2 separate regions of the Homo sapiens genome follow, and region 2 is linked to region 1. Evidence: promoter capture Hi-C in 16 types of primary human blood cells and fetal thymus (Javierre and others, 2016). All regions are on one chromosome and are shown on one strand. Each heading gives the region's core, a stretch centred on a gene start or on the middle of the fragment in contact. The rest is flanking DNA. Distances are from core to core; before and after follow the strand shown.

Evidence for each region. The method cuts DNA at HindIII sites, captures the fragments that hold promoters and counts their contacts. A CHiCAGO score of 5 or more calls a contact.
Region 2: a contact is called between a fragment that was not itself captured here and the fragment with the promoter of YY1 in region 1, in 1 of 17 cell types (erythroblasts). The highest score is 5.0, in erythroblasts.

What each region holds. Positions count from the first base shown.
Region 1 is chr14:100,236,840-100,241,326 of GRCh38, forward strand. It overlaps YY1 (YY1 transcription factor), which reads left to right and starts at 2,305. Exons shown (of 5, transcript NM_003403.5): 1 at 2,305-3,084. The coding sequence starts at 2,406. YY1-DT (YY1 divergent transcript) reads right to left here and starts at 1,782. Exons shown (of 2, transcript NR_189150.1): 1 at 1,632-1,782. RefSeq lists enhancers at 1,367-2,219, 3,057-3,216 and silencers at 1,457-2,056, 2,117-2,196, 2,347-2,416, 2,907-2,956, 3,227-3,906. The HindIII fragment of the contact is 3,842 bases long and covers 113-3,954 here.
Region 2 is chr14:99,685,146-99,690,024 of GRCh38, forward strand. The region is part of intron 1 of CYP46A1 (cytochrome P450 family 46 subfamily A member 1); the gene reads left to right. Among named protein-coding and RNA genes, the nearest start is that of CYP46A1, 3.3 kb to the left of the region's middle. The HindIII fragment of the contact is 3,529 bases long and covers 1-3,502 here.

The sequences.
Region 1 (4,487 bases), core at 1,055-3,554:
GCCTAACAGGTCACCTCCTATGGGGCAAGTTTAAAAAGCTATTTTCTGGAGCAGGTACTAGGATGGCCTTCAGGAGCATTTTAGTGCTTTCTGACCTACTACCTTTCCTCAAAGCTTTCAATCCTTTTGGGCTTTCTCCACTTGAATGTGAACACCTACAGATCTACAGCTCAGAAACCAGGATGCTTAATGGGTAATTCCCTCATTTCTCTTGCTCTCACAATTGGTGTTTATGGGGAAGTATCAACTACTTGCAGTGCCATTTCCCCATCAATTACTAGAGAGTGGGGAAAGTGAAATTTAAAAAGCATTAAGACATGTAAAAGTTCTCCCACAACTGGTTTCCATTCATGAAATATTTATGCAGAGTTTATAAGCTATAAAGCCAGAGATGACTTAATTCAACAGATTTGACTTTTCCAAACTGAGTGGGTGCAGTACTCCAAGGGGAATTATTCAGGTTTCAAAGCTCAGATTCAAAGAGAAAACGATCTAATTTGTCACTCCTTACACTAATATTCTCAAAAGTCAAGTCCAATGCGATTTAGCAATAAGAAGGGACTAGGATTTATAAAGTTGCCTTTTAATGAGAATGTATAGTCTACTTGTTTTAACAAGTTGAGCCTAAGATTAATGTATTGCGTACAGTTCAGAAAATCATGGGCCTCAACTGCATGAACACTATTACAAAACAGTAAATGTTGATAATATTTAAGTTGAACAAATTCACAGAGGCGTTAAATCGGCCAAACGAGTACAACAAAGACACACCTTTCCAACTCTTCAATTTGTCATAGTTTCCTTAAAAATCAGGAAATCTTTGTTTTGCTTTAAGGCAAATTGTCAGGTCGACCAAAAGGACAGATAAGAGCAGAAACACTTCGCTGCAATGTAACTCATTCAGGAAGGTTTAACTTGCCGCTAATCCGTGCCACAAAAAAAAATCTAGGCTCTGTTGCAGGTACAATGGAGGACACGGCTGAAAAAATTTGGAATTTTAAATGAGACAAATGCAAAACCTGGTGGGCGTAAAAAGGAGCACCTATGAAAGTGACAAATAGGGGGAAAGGGTGGGCAAGGGAAACAATGGCTGACTGGAGAGCAAAGAAGGGGAAGCTCAGGAGAAAATTTTAGAAAGCCGCCAGGACCCTGTAGTTCTAAGATCTACGGGGAAACAGGCACCCAACGGCTGCGTCTCAGGTTTCCGCGGGTCACTAAAGAATAACGGACATCCTCCCAACGGTGGCCCTGGGGCTCCGCGGGCGCTTCCGCCGAGCTCGCGCCGACCCCGCGCTCGGCCCCGCACCCCGCCGGGCGCTCGCGGCGAGATACCGGACGCTGCCCGCGTCGCCCGATTTTGTCCGTTCGGTCCTCCACACTCACCCCGCGGCCATCGCTCGCCCGAAGCCAGGCGACAAGAACAAACACCTCCCGACGCGAAAAAGGAAGCACAGGCGATTCTCGTCAAAGCAGACTTTATTGGGGCGACAGGGCCGCCCCGCACGCGCCAGCCGCTCCCCGCGCGGCCCCCGGGCCGCCCACCCGCCTCAACCCCGCTCCCGGCCGGCCCCTCCCTCCCTTCTCCTCAGGCTCCCGCCCCCGTGGTGCCCGGGGCCGCGCGGACCGCTCACCGGCTCCCAAGGCAGCGGCTGTAGCGGCGACGCCCCGTTCCCGAGTGCGGCCCCGGCCCGAGGCGGCGGGTTTTGTGGCTGTTGCACCGCGAAGGGCGGCAGCCGCGCGACACCGGGAAGCGGGAGGCGGTGGCGGCGGCGGCGGCGCGCTGACGTCACGCGCCGCGGGCCAGCCAGGGCGCGTGCGAGCCGCCCCGCCCCCGGTCCCATCGGCCCCAATCCGGGAGGAGCCCGGCGAGTGGGCGGGGCCGCGGAGGCCAGCGGACAGATCGATTGGCCGAGAGGAGAATCGAGAGGGCGAACGGGCGAGTGGCAGCGAGGCGGGGCGGGCTGAGGCCAGCGCGGAAGTCTCGCGAGGCCGGGCCCGAGCAGAGTGTGGCGGCGGCGGCGAGATCTGGGCTCGGGTTGAGGAGTTGGTATTTGTGTGGAAGGAGGCGGAGGCGCAGGAGGAAGGGGGAAGCGGAGCGCCGGCCCGGAGGGCGGGAGGAGGCGCGGCCAGGGCGGGCGGTTGCGGCGAGGCGAGGCGAGGCGGGGAGCCGAGACGAGCAGCGGCCGAGCGAGCGCGGGCGCGGGCGCACCGAGGCGAGGGAGGCGGGGAAGCCCCGCCGCCGCCGCGGCGCCCGCCCCTTCCCCCGCCGCCCGCCCCCTCTCCCCCCGCCCGCTCGCCGCCTTCCTCCCTCTGCCTTCCTTCCCCACGGCCGGCCGCCTCCTCGCCCGCCCGCCCGCAGCCGAGGAGCCGAGGCCGCCGCGGCCGTGGCGGCGGAGCCCTCAGCCATGGCCTCGGGCGACACCCTCTACATCGCCACGGACGGCTCGGAGATGCCGGCCGAGATCGTGGAGCTGCACGAGATCGAGGTGGAGACCATCCCGGTGGAGACCATCGAGACCACAGTGGTGGGCGAGGAGGAGGAGGAGGACGACGACGACGAGGACGGCGGCGGTGGCGACCACGGCGGCGGGGGCGGCCACGGGCACGCCGGCCACCACCACCACCACCATCACCACCACCACCACCCGCCCATGATCGCTCTGCAGCCGCTGGTCACCGACGACCCGACCCAGGTGCACCACCACCAGGAGGTGATCCTGGTGCAGACGCGCGAGGAGGTGGTGGGCGGCGACGACTCGGACGGGCTGCGCGCCGAGGACGGCTTCGAGGATCAGATTCTCATCCCGGTGCCCGCGCCGGCCGGCGGCGACGACGACTACATTGAACAAACGCTGGTCACCGTGGCGGCGGCCGGCAAGAGCGGCGGCGGCGGCTCGTCGTCGTCGGGAGGCGGCCGCGTCAAGAAGGGCGGCGGCAAGAAGAGCGGCAAGAAGAGTTACCTCAGCGGCGGGGCCGGCGCGGCGGGCGGCGGCGGCGCCGACCCGGGCAACAAGAAGTGGGAGCAGAAGCAGGTGCAGATCAAGACCCTGGAGGGCGAGTTCTCGGTCACCATGTGGTCCTCAGGTGAGCGCCGGCCGCGCGCCCCGGCCCCGGGATGTTTTTGTTTTGAAGGGAAGCCATGTTTTATGTGTGTGATGGGCGCCGCCATCTTCTTCGCCAGGGCAAGTATGGCGGCCCCAAAAGATGGCGGGCCGTGCGGCGGCGGGGGCGCGGCGGCGGCGGCGGGCGGCGGGCCGCGAAGATGGCGGCAGGCCGCGGGGGGGAGGGGCCGGCGCCGCCCGGCTAGGCCGCAATGGCGTAGTTTCTCCGAGAGGGGGAAGCGCCGCGCGGGGCGGAGACGGCCGGGGGAGGGGCCGGCGCGCTCGCTCCCCGACGCCCTCGCTCCCCGCGCCCGCATCAACGGGCGCGCCCGCCGGCCCGTTGTGGCGGCAGCTGCGCGCCCCCGGCCCGGGCGGGACGCGGGAGGTCGTTGGCGGGGCTGCGCCGCGGCCTCGCGGGCCAGGGATTGCTGCCTCCGGGACGCGCGCCCCCGCCCCCGCCCGGCGCTGCCGTTACCCCATCGGCCGCTGGAGGGCGCCGCGGGCGCTTGCCCCGCCCGCCCCCAACTTCCCCGGACTCCCAACTGCTCCCCGGTGGCACCTTCCAGAAGGAGGGGGCTTGGCACTCGTGGGCGCCCTCCGGCCTCCTTGCTCCCCGCCCACCCAGCGCCGGGCTGGACCCTGCCCCGGCGGTCACGCTCGCCCAAGTCGTCGTTTGCTGCGGGGCGGGACTTGGGGCTGCACGTAGGGCTCGCGTGTGCGGGCTCCGAGCGTCAGTCGGAGCCTGTCACCGCCGTTGCCAGCGAATTCCTGGCCTTTTCGCCTTCCTGCGGTACCTAGTGGAAAGGGCCTGTGAATGTTAGCGAATAATTCTTAGTCACTTACGTTTTGGGAAAGCTTTTTTTTTTTCCCTCAAGTATTTAGCTCTTCTGAATAGGTTGGGTTAGTTTACTCAACTGTGGACATTTGCCAGTAAATAAAATCGGGTAGTTTAATTTTAAGCCTTTATGGTTTTTACTTTGTAGAAAGGTATCTATTTTCCCCATGAAAAGAACGATAATAGAAAGCGGGTTTTTTTGAGTTTTGTTTTACTGTTTTAATACTACTTTTAACGAAGGCCTGAAAACCATCTAGAGCAAAAGGATCTTATCTGCCTGTGTAAAATCTGTTTTTACTTCAAAGGCAATTATTAATTCAATGCTGGTTTTTTAGGTCAGTATCCTATTAGTATATTCATATGCTACCTAGCTAAATTGCTGAGATACTAAATAGACTGAGAATAATCCTGCCATCGTAGTTAATCTAATGCCTGTGATGATTACGTTTAGTACTCCATATAAGCGGTGGAACCTCTTCCCTATAAGTACTTTAAAGCTTCATAAATTCTCAGAACTGAATGGAGACTCAAAATATGGTGACCTTTGAGTA
Region 2 (4,879 bases), core at 488-2,987, 550 kb before region 1:
GCTCCAAGGGCTTCCCATCACTTGACAACTAAATGCAGTTCTAAATTAAGTCGGCTGCATGGCCCGCGAGGCCCCTGCCGAGCACTCAGAACCCACTCTGCAGCTTGCTCTTTCCTCTTGCTTTCTCACTACTGCCCCCAGCCTTTCTTCTCCCAGCCTCCCCCTCCCCCCGCCCCCCCCGCAGCTTCCCTCCCCCCGGGTCCTTTTCTCAAGCCTGGGCCTGGCGGGCTTCTTCCTCTGCTTGTCTCAAACAGGCCTTGCCCAGCACCTTGTGTAAAGACCACCCAGCCCCAGACTTCTCAGGGGCCATCACCTCTGAGGTTACCTTCTTTCCACCTGTTGACTGTCTGTTCACCTGTTGACTGTCTCCCCCTCTAGAATGTGAGCCCCGGGAGGACAGGGACACTCTGTGTTCGCTTGTGTATCCCCAGTGCCTGGCGTGTTGCAGATCTCAATAAATATTTGTTGAATGAATGAATAAACAATTGTATTAGACACACTTTTTAAAATCTCAGGACATGAATATTCTGGAAGGCACCCATCTCCAGCACAAGCCAGATGTACTGGCGTTAGAAGCCTGAATCTCTGCTTGATGGGTTCAGGAAAGATCTCTGTGGCTGGTGACATAGGGAGGCACCTGTTCTCCCTGCTGGCTCTCTGCCCTTCTGGTGCTCTCTCTCTCTCTCCTTGCTTAGCTCCTCTGCCTTCTACTTTACCTGGATGCTTCTTCCCCCAGCCTTCCAGGTTTGGCTTCAATGCTAACTCCTCAGGGAGGTTCCTCCTGCTCCCCCAAAAATATTATGTTCATTTTATAAACCCTGAAATCACTGTAATTTTCCTTTACAGCATAATGTTAATTGGGCAATTATTTGTGCAAGTTTTTCCTAAGTGTCTCTTTTCCATGGGCCCCCTGTCTGTCTCAGTCACTGCTGCATCTCCGACATGTAGCAGCACATTGTACATGCATAGTAGACACTCTATGAATAGCAATTCAAGGTTGAATGGTGGAAATCTCCCGTGAGTTCCGTGGTGGACACTATCACCCTCTCAAGTTTTCAGAGAAGCCATCAGCACTTAGAATTGAATGAGTTTGGTGCTTGTTCTGATAAGTTTCATCGTTACTTGGTCTTCTCATAAACTCAAATGACCTGTTCTGGTCTCTGTGTCTTGAGAAAGCAGAATTTAAATCATCTTAAAAAAAATTGAAATGTAACTTGCATTCCACAAAATGTATTCTTTAGTGTATGATTCAGTGGTTTTTGGTACATTCACAGCACTGTGCAGCCATCGCCACCGATTTCAGAACTGTTTTGTCACCCCAGAAAGAAACCCCGTACCCATTAGCCATCACTCCTCATTTTCTCCCACCCCTCACAGCCCTGGCAACCATGAATCTGCTTTCTGTCTCTGTGGATTTGCCTGTTCTGGACATTTCATATAAATGGAATCATACAATATGTGGCCTTTTGTGTCTGGCTTCTTTCACTTAGTATAATGTTTCAAAAGTTCATTCATGTAGTAGCATGTATCCTTATTGCTTTCCTTCTTATGGCTAAATTCTTCCCAAATCTTATACCACAGAGTCTACATGTGACCTGAGTGTGTGGGGTGCGGAGGGAGCAGTGGGAGGAAGATGAATATAATCATGATTGGGCTATTTATTCTAAGGAGGTGAACTGAACAATGCATATATAAAAAGATTTTGGATTAAAAATTGGTTAGTGGTCAAATATAAAACTGCACTAAATGAAAGTTCTGGAAACTCTTCTAGCAGAAACCCGATGCCTTGACATTAAAAGCCTGGATCTTTAAACTATGATTGGCGATACTGTGGTTGACGAGAGATCTGTGTGTTGAGTCTCCAGTAGTAGCATTTGCCCCCGGGTACCCCAGGGCTTTGCCAGCTGGCAGGCAAGGAACCCTCTCGCTGCAAGAGGCAACTCTTCATCTTCCTCATTCTACAGGAGGCCCTCCCTCAGTGCCCCTCCTCTGTGCTTTTCTTACCACATCCTACTGCACCGATCCGTGTAACAGCTGAAAACTCAGACCCCCACACTCAGATCCCACACAAACACCTGTAGCTTCTTTATTTCTCTGTCACTGTTCTAACTTCCCTCATCAGCCCCTACTCTCCTGGTAATGTGGGAGTGGATGTAAACTTGACAATGAAAGGTCTTTCTCTCCCAATTTTTATTTATTTGGGGATAAATTGACTCCTCCTGGACAGTTCTGGTTCCACTCCGATTTGCCCAGTTGCTGGGGTGGGGCTGTTCAGCAAGGAGCAGGGTGGCCAGCCATGGGGGAGCCCCACAGCTGGCTCTGGCGGGTGGTGCATCTGATGAGCTTTGGGTGCCCAGCTGAGCACTCGCCACCCTGCCCCTCTGGCATGAGCCACAATCATGGTCCCTCACCCTCACGCCTACCCCTAGTGGGTAGCCCGCTCCTCCACTACTGGAGCATTCCCTTCATCCCTCTGGGTGACTTCACTGTGGGCTCTCCAGATGGCCTCTCCTCGTTCACTGGCCAAGGTTTTCTCTGCCCACAGGAGAGCTTGGGTCCCCACTCAGCCAATCATGATGTTGCAGGAAACTGGATGTGCTGGAGAGGTGTGGGGTGGTGGGCGGTGGGGGATTGCCTCTCCTCTCTCCCAGGGCTGCTCTGCTGTGTCCAGTCTATCACCAGGGACATGCCAAGTGGGCTTCTGCCTGCCGGGGCGCTGAGCAACAAGTCCCCATGTCTGGCCATGGTGTTAGCCTTACCTGCTTGTTTTTAACACCTGGGTCTTCCTGTTCTGTTGTCGCCTCCCCAGCGCCCCCTGCAGGTGCCAGAAGGAATGGGTTTTTTTTCCCCTTTCTTGGTGGGCCATGAGGACCCCACCCCTCTCTGTGCCCTCTGTCTTCCTGAGATGGCACTCACCTTCCTTCCCATGTGGCAGGGAACCCCAGGGGTTAGGGTGGAAGCTCTGGGCTCAGACTCTGTCCTCACTTAAGTGACTCAAAACTGAGAACATTCCCCCAGAATGTGAGCTTTGGGAAGCGACAATGAGGACACTAGATTACTCTGGAAATACATCCAGGCATGTGTGATGATCACAGCCCATCTTCCTGCAAGTTCAAGGCCACTCACCTGGCGTGGGCCTCCACTGCGGGCAGGCGGCCACCCCGTACTTCCTTCCCCAGGGCGTTTATTCGCCTACTCTCCCTTCCTGCTTCAGTCCCCATCACCTCCCCCTCCATCCGCACTCTCAGCTTTTATTCTTGCCTCCTACTTCCCTGAGCAAAGGGAGCAGCCGGTGAGAGTTTCCTTCCTGGGCTCCACTGAGCAGCTGCCCACCTCCTGCCCCAGGCCCACGCACACCTTCCAGCTGTTCCGGGAGGGTAGCCCAGGCCAACCTGCCCCCTCTGCTCAGCAACCCTGTCCTAGGAGCACCCCCACCTCCAAATCAGCACTTTTCCTCCTCTTCTGCATCATCCCCATTTTTATATAATATGTAAGAATTCAAAGCTTGGAACAAAACCTTTCCCTTCACCCTCTCGTTCCCTGTAGCTGCCGCCCCCTATGGTAACCCACCTGGCTGACTGCCTGCCTTTGGGCCTCCCTTTTCTCCCCTCTGGTTCTCTCTGCCCCATACCTCTCCACCAAACTTGCTGGGGGCTCGGTTCCCGGTGATCTCCATGTTGTCGCACCCAGCCGTCAGCCCTGGATCCTCGTCTGACCTGGCCCCCAGCAGCCTGGGCAGAGCCGATGCCCCCTCCGCCTTGTCCCGCATCCTCCTCTGGCTTCTCACCCAACTCTCCTGGCTCTCTTCCCTCCTCCCCAGTGCTCCCGCTCAGTCCACTTGGCTGGCTGTCCCTATGCTCCCAACTTCTCAGTGATGGCTTAGTTCTTGGTCCTCTTCTCTGTCTGTATCCATTCCCTTGTGGCCTCATCCAATCACTGGGCTGGAAATACCACTTCTCTGCTGTGGGCTCTCAAATTTATGTCTCTAGCCTACAGCCCTTCCCTGGGCTCCAGATCTGAGTGTCTAACTTCCTGCTCAATAGTCCACCACAAACCTTACCGGTCCCAAGCCAAGCTCCTAATTTCATCTGCTTGTCTGAGATTGGTCCCCCCAAAGCTGATCCTGAGATAAGAAATGAAGTGTAAGTAGTTTAGGAGGTGGGGGATGATCCCAGTTTGAGCAGTGGGAGGAGGAGAGTGGATAAAGAAGGTAAACAAACCAATAAAACAAGTTACCTCTTGGGGAAACAGGTGCAATTCCCTGGGAACCCTGGGGACTTGTGTAGAGCACATGCCCAGAGCTACCCCAGAAGTGGAGGGGCTGAGGTCATTGGTGGAGGGCTGCTCAAAGTGGGTTCATCTCCTGTGGGCAGAGCCAGAGACGGCCCTGGCAAATTGCAGGGGGTGGGCACGGTGGCTCTGCCACCCCAACCAGCTCCTCCTCATCTTGGTAGATGGTCGCTCCATCCATTCTTCCAGCAGCCCAGGCCAAAAACACAGAGTCATCCTCACACCCCCATAGCCAAACGGCACGTTCCAGTATTCCGCCTCACAGAGCATTCAGAATCTGACCTCTTCTTATCATTGCCTCCGCTGCCCTGCTCTGTTCTGAGCCCTCGTCACCTCTCCCAGTCCTTCCCTGTCACTAGTGTCCCTGCTTCCTCCCCTACCCTGGTTACTCTCTGCACTGCTGCAAAACAATCCATTCAAACCCAAGTCAGATCCCATCTCTGCTCTGCTCAAAACCCTCTAGTGGACCCCAGCTCACCAAAGTCAAAGCAAAAATCTGGACCACAGCCCACAAGGCTCTACATGACCTGCCCCCAGTCTTGGTGACCCACCTTGTACTCTGTTTCCCTCAAGTACTCTGCCCGAGCCA